Linked DNA regions of Homo sapiens: region 1 is linked to region 2. Evidence: promoter capture Hi-C in 16 types of primary human blood cells and fetal thymus (Javierre and others, 2016). All regions are on one chromosome and are shown on one strand. The core of a region is centred on a gene start or on the middle of the fragment in contact, and the rest is flanking DNA. Distances in the headings are between cores, read along the strand shown. Region 1 has its middle 96 kb from the start of DIRC3-AS1. Region 2 holds the start of IGFBP5 (insulin like growth factor binding protein 5).

The links. The method cuts DNA at HindIII sites, captures the fragments that hold promoters and counts their contacts. A CHiCAGO score of 5 or more calls a contact.
Region 1: a contact is called between a fragment that was not itself captured here and the fragment with the promoter of IGFBP5 in region 2, in 1 of 17 cell types (megakaryocytes). The highest score is 6.3, in megakaryocytes.

The regions. Positions count from the first base shown.
Region 1 is chr2:217,184,895-217,187,989 of GRCh38, forward strand. No RefSeq gene overlaps it. Among named protein-coding and RNA genes, the nearest start is that of DIRC3-AS1, 96 kb to the right of the region's middle. The HindIII fragment of the contact is 2,976 bases long and covers 1-2,816 here.
Region 2 is chr2:216,694,110-216,697,008 of GRCh38, forward strand. IGFBP5 (insulin like growth factor binding protein 5) reads right to left here and starts at 1,440. Exons shown (of 4, transcript NM_000599.4): 1 at 330-1,440. The coding sequence starts at 666. It overlaps IGFBP-AS1 (IGFBP5 antisense RNA 1), which reads left to right and starts at 337. Exons shown (of 6, transcript NR_187138.1): 1 at 337-652. The HindIII fragment of the contact is 8,390 bases long and covers 1-1,894 here.

The sequences.
Region 1 (3,095 bases), core at 79-2,578, 490 kb after region 2:
ATGCCTTCTTCATGTCTTCCTGAAGGACCCATCTGAACTTGTTTTACAATTCACTTTTTTTTTTTTTTTTTTTTTTTTGAGATGGAGTTTCGCTCTTTATTGCCCAGGCTGGAGTGCAGTGGCGCAATCTCGGCTCGCTGCAACCTCTGCCTTCCAGGTTCAAGTGATTCCCCTGTCTCAGCCTCCTGAGTAGCTGGGATTACAGGTGCCCACCTCCATGCCTGGCTAGCATTTTTAGTAGAGACGGGGTTTCACCATGTTGGCCAGGCTGGTCTTGAACTCCTGACCTCAGGTGATCCGCCCACCTTGGCCTGGTGGGCTAGGTGTGAGCCACCGCGCCTGGCCAACATTCTTTTTAGTAAGTAGAAAGACCATACTCTAATGATAAAAAGTAACATATAGTAAATATAAAACCAGTGACATCATTGTTTATTATCATTATCAATTATTATGTACTGTACATCATAGTGTGTGCTAGACTTTTATACAATTGACAGCATCGTGGGTTTGTTTATACCAGCATCACCACAAACATGTAATGTCTTGCATTATGATGCTATGATGGTGACGTCATGATGGGTACAATATTACCATGGCTACGATGTCACTAGGCAATAGGAACTTTTCAGCTCCATTATAATCTTATGAGACCACCATCATATATGCAGTCCATCATGGACTGAAACATTATTATGTGTTGTGAACCGAGTCTTCTCTTTGCTTTTTTCAGGGCATTTTCTATGTTTTGCTGGCCATTTTGGACTGGGATAGATTTCTCTAACTTCGGGATTTCTCCCTTTAGCAGTTTCTGATGAACCATTCATGCCTGAATTATGATGTGTAAAATGCCACGTTGGATTCTCCAAGAACCTGCCATTTGTCATGCTTTTCCTTCTTGGGCCATGCATTCATTTGTTATCCCAGAGCACTCTGGAATGTCCTGGGCTCTAAATTAAGGGATCTAAATGACTCCTCTAGAAAGAAATGTGGGGAAAAATAAAAGTTAATCGGCCTCCACTAATAGAGGCAGGGCAGGGCAGTTTCTCTATCACTTCTTTCTGATCTCAAAAGTGTTCCTCCCAGTACAAATGAAGAGAAGGAATTTAAGACCCCCTGGGCTTAAGAAAAGGAGGAGAGAAGGAAGACAGAAACGTGAGGGATAACTGCATGCCCTTGGGGATGTATGTCTGCAATAGATGCCATTGCCTCAGAGGAACCTTCCAAGGAACAATTCCAAATTACATTCTACTGAAACTAGGGTGACTATAAAATGGATCATCCAAATAGGACACTTTTAAAGGAAAGTGGACACTACTAGTAGTTATGTTAGACAATAGGCATAAACTGAGACTGTGCCTGCTCACCCATATCAGTGACCGAGTGGATGAACTTTACCCGAGAACCCACTCTGTGTCAGTGGCGGTGTCCGGCTGTGTTCATGTTCGGCACTCACCCAAGACATGTGAGTCCAAGACAGGGACATCCCTCATGTTGCAATATAAGAAATTGACACAGTTGGGACTTCAAGCTCTACTACCAAAGTTCAAAGTTTGGTTTTGAAATTTCAACAGTTATTAGTAGACCAACTAGGGGTAAAGGCAGACTCCTTCCTGATTCTGGAACAGAATATGAAGTACGTATGTAAAGAGAACTAATGTATGCGTTGGAAGGGGAGATGGCAAGGTCACATTACCATCTGAGTTTGGGTTTTTCTTACATGTGTCACTTGGCCCAGTTTTTATTAGTAAGTGGCGACAGAGTGAGAAGCAGGAAAATTTGATTCGTGGACTGCATTTGGTTGGGTTCCTCCCACACTCAGCAGGTCCAAGACCTACCCTGTTTTACTAAAGGATGCAGCCAGCTTCCTTTCCCCAGGGAATGCTTTCAGCAGAGAGAAGCTCAGTTATGGCTTATGTCTCATGACTTTTCCCTAATCTGCTTCATCCTAATCTGTTCTCAGGATATTAAAAAATAATAATCAGGGAGCATCCAGAGGCCAAGAATATCAAATCCTGCTTCCTCCAGCTTCCCCAGTCTCTGCTTTTCCACTAGAACTGGCTCAGAAGCTGCAGGACTCAATATCCCCCCTGCAATCAAGGCCAGGGATGAGCTGGACAGATTGGGACAGGTTTTTGGAAGCAGCAGAGGGGCTGATCTTTGAAAACAGAATGTACTAAAAGCAGTTCTTGGAAAGTCAAAGGAGGTTAAAACTGTAGTCAGCATCATTTTCTCCCTCGTGTAGTTAATGACCTTTTTCACTGACGATTCATGGGTTAGATGTGAACATCTGTCCCACAGTGGGAAAAAGATGAATAAATATCTGAATTAAATTAGGACCAGAAGCAATGATCATCAGTCATTTACTGTTTCTTCATTGGTTTATATTACATTTGTTCATCCACTAATTCATTAGTTCAAGTGTCAATTTTTTATTCTCTGTCATGTGTTCCTGCTTTTTCCAAGTTTATAGCCTGGTGCTGGGGTGGGGGGTGGTGAGTGGGAGACGCAGACAATTAAATGGACAAATGCATAAAATGATCCATAGGCTTTGATAGGAGTACAAAATAGTATGAGAGTACCTAACGTGGACTTCCAACCTAAGCCAAGGGGTCAAGGGAAGAAGTTTCTCAGAGAAAGTGACACACAAACTGATACCCATAGAATCTCATAGAAATCAGTCAGTCTGAGAGAAAATGAACTTAGAAAAAGTGCTCAAGGTCTGGGTGCAAGAGGACATGGCTCATCCAAGGAACTATAAGATGGTCAGTAAGACTGTAAGACAAGAGGGCAGGAGAATAGGAAAGGACGGATGGATAAGCTTTATTTCCTCTTTCGTTTTCTTATAATCATAGACTGTTAGGACTGAAAGGGATTTGTGGTCATTAACCCCTCCTCTTAGAAACTGGGAAATCAGGCCCGGCGCAGTGGCTCACGTCTTCCATCCCAGCACTTTGGGAAGTTGAGGTGGGAAGATCACTTGAGGTCAGGAGTTCAAGACCAGCCTGGCCAACATAATGAAACCCTGTCTCTACTAAAAATACAAAAATTAGTCTGGCATGGTGGTGCGTGCCTGTAGTCCCGGCTATTCAGGAGGC
Region 2 (2,899 bases), core at 190-2,689:
AGACTGTAGATAGGGTACCAGGGGATTTGGACCTTGTGACCGAATAAGAGCTCAGAATCAGTATTCGGACAGAGTAGGGGGAGGGGGCGGGCAACGTGTGGGTAGGAGGAAGGAGAAAGAGCGAAAGCTGGGATAGACTCGGCTAGACAGTTCCCCCGGGTAGCAGGATCCTCCAGGGCTCCAATTCCGGGGTGCAAGGACCCTCCCCGACTACTCCCGAGCTGCACCCCAGCTCGAAGCCACTTGCTGCGCAAAGCGCGCGGGCCCAGCCGGTCTCGTGTCCCCCGCCCGTGCGCCGCGTAACTGACTGGCACACTGAGCGCGCTCACCGATCTTGACTTGCTCGCGGTAGCTCTTTTCGTTGAGGCAAACCCCGCGGCCGTGCAGCAGGGCGTGCAGCGGCTTCTCCTCGTCCTGCCGGGGGAGGCAGCGCAGCCCCTGGGCGCAGCGCTCGGTGTAGACGCCGCACGACTGCCCCTCGGCCAGGGCGCAGGTCATGCAGCAGCCGCAGCCCGGCTCCTTGACCAGCTCGCAGCCCAGGGGGCTGGGGGGGCACATGGAGAGGGCTTTCTCGTCGCAGGGCTCGCAGTGCACGAAGGAGCCCAGGCTCTGGGCCGGCCCCGCATAGGCGGCCAGCAGCAGGAGGACCGCGGTGAGCAACACCATCTTCTCTTAGTCGCCCCCTTTACCTCGGGGTGGGGCAGGAGAGCGAGAGTGCAGGGATAAAGGGGCCAAGAGGGCCCCCGGAGATTTTTTTGTTTTTGTTTTTGTTTTAAAATTTCTGGCAGGTAGAGCAGGTGCCCTCCCCCAGACACTTGCAAAAATGTAGAGAGAGGTGGAGGGCTGGGGTGCCTGCGAGCAGGTCCCAGTTGCAAGAATTAAAGCCTTGCAACAGGTTGGGGGAAGCAGGGCAGCGCCAGGTGCACGCAGTGAGCGGAGGCCGGAGAAACCCTCAAGCCTGAGCGGGTCAGAATTATAGGGGAAAAAAAGCCACAAAATTGTTCACCCCCAAGCAACCACCGAAATAATGAGATCGGATGCAGTGGAGATGGCGTTGGGGGTGGGAGAGAAAAATGGATTTATCTTTAAAATTTTTGCTTAAAATCTAAAATACACCCCGCTTTCTAACCCTCAGCTGCCAGCGGTGCGCGGCGCCGCAGAACAGGTAAGAGGCGTTGGCTGCAGCCGAGAGGGTGGGAGAAAATGTTGAAATCAAGAAATTAAAAAACAAAAACAAAAACAAAAAAACCCCAAACCCTAACACCTCTTTTCTCCCACTTTGCCACCTCCTCTTCGAAATTCGCAGGTTCTACGCGAAGTCCGGAGAAGGGTGAAAACGGAGGAGGGGTAATGAAAAGGAGCAAAAAAGGGAAAAAGCCCACACTGCTTTGCAGCTCTTTCCTAGCTCTTTTCCCCTGCAGAAGTTTCCAAAGAGACTACGGGGCTCCGGGAGAGCAGGCGCTTTTAAATAGCCGGCCCCTGGCTGCCAGCCAGTTTGTAGCTGCAATTTGAGCTTCCCAACACCCAACTCAGGCAAGGATGCCAAGGAGCTTTGCAGTACAAACTCACACGGGGTGGGGGTGGGGAGAGGCCTTCTAGACACAAGGGGGCTCCCCTTCGCTCCCTGAACAGCGCCCTCCTCCCCTCTGAACAGCGCCCTCCTCCCCCCGGAATGTAAGAAAGGGGCAAGGGGGACAGGCTGGGGCTACCGAGAATGGGGAGGAGGTGGAGGGGCCAGTGGAAGACAGAGTTCTTCGGAGCAGGGTGAACACAATGAGGAGAGTAACTTCGTCTCCCCTTCCCTCCTATCCTTTAAGTAGTCAAGGCACAGGCTGAAGGGAGACGTATTTTCTTATTAGCCAACTGGATATACCGTGCCCAAGAAATCTTCCTAAGCTTCTGCAATTGACTGTATGCTGGTGTCTGTTTCCATGTGGGGTGTGTGTGTGTGTGTGTTTGGGGGACAGGTAGTGTAGAATGGCCAGTGATGTCTGGTGAGCTAAATTTAAAAAAGAAGAAAAAATTGAATTTCTCCCCTAAAAGTCTGGAGAAGAGGATTTAATCAGGGGGTTTCAGTACTCATGATGAAGAGGTGACCAGTTGCCTTCAGCTGCGTTGGCCAGGGAGGTTCTCTCTCTCTTTCTCTCTCTCTGTGTGTGTGTGTGTATGTGTGTGTGTTGTGTATCTGCAGGAATGGACATTCATACAACAGCATTATTGAGAGCAGTGAGTTGCAGAGATGGACACTTTGGAGGAAATGCTAAGTCTGAAAACCTTGCATGGTGGCCTAAAGTGTCCTTGTGTGTGGGGTTCTTAGAGGGAAGAAAGGTGGATTGGAGTGACACTTCCCTCTCTGTCACTTTGCAGAGGTATTTCTATTGGGCAGGGCCACATCCCTGGAGGGAGTGGGTGGCAGAGTAGCTGGAGGAGACCTTGTGATAGGTTGACAGGTTAGTTGGTGCTTATAGGCACATCCCAGGAATATGAGCTGACAGGGCCACAGGACCTGCTTGGAAGAGGTCCTGACCAGGAACCGAATCATGCCACTAGAACCTCTTTAATAAAATGAAAGAAAACTAAGGCCTTGAAATAGGAAGGTGGTGGTTTTAGCTTTTTCTGAAATTGACCTGAGTGAGCCATGAGCCTCACAGGCAAGTCAGAGAGAAATGACCAATGTCACTGCCCCTGCTGGGTGGACTTGGTGTGGGCTGTTACACCTTTTACATTGTGCTTCCTCCCTTGAGAAGTATTCTAACTTTCCTTTGGAGAAGGGGCTGCATTTCATGAAGTTTGCCACTAGACTGCACCCTTATCTATGATAAGAATTCTTTCTGGAGGACTGCTTTCAAGAAAATATTTTTTCTTGCTCGTTCAGTTCAGGAGCATCTCACTTTATGCC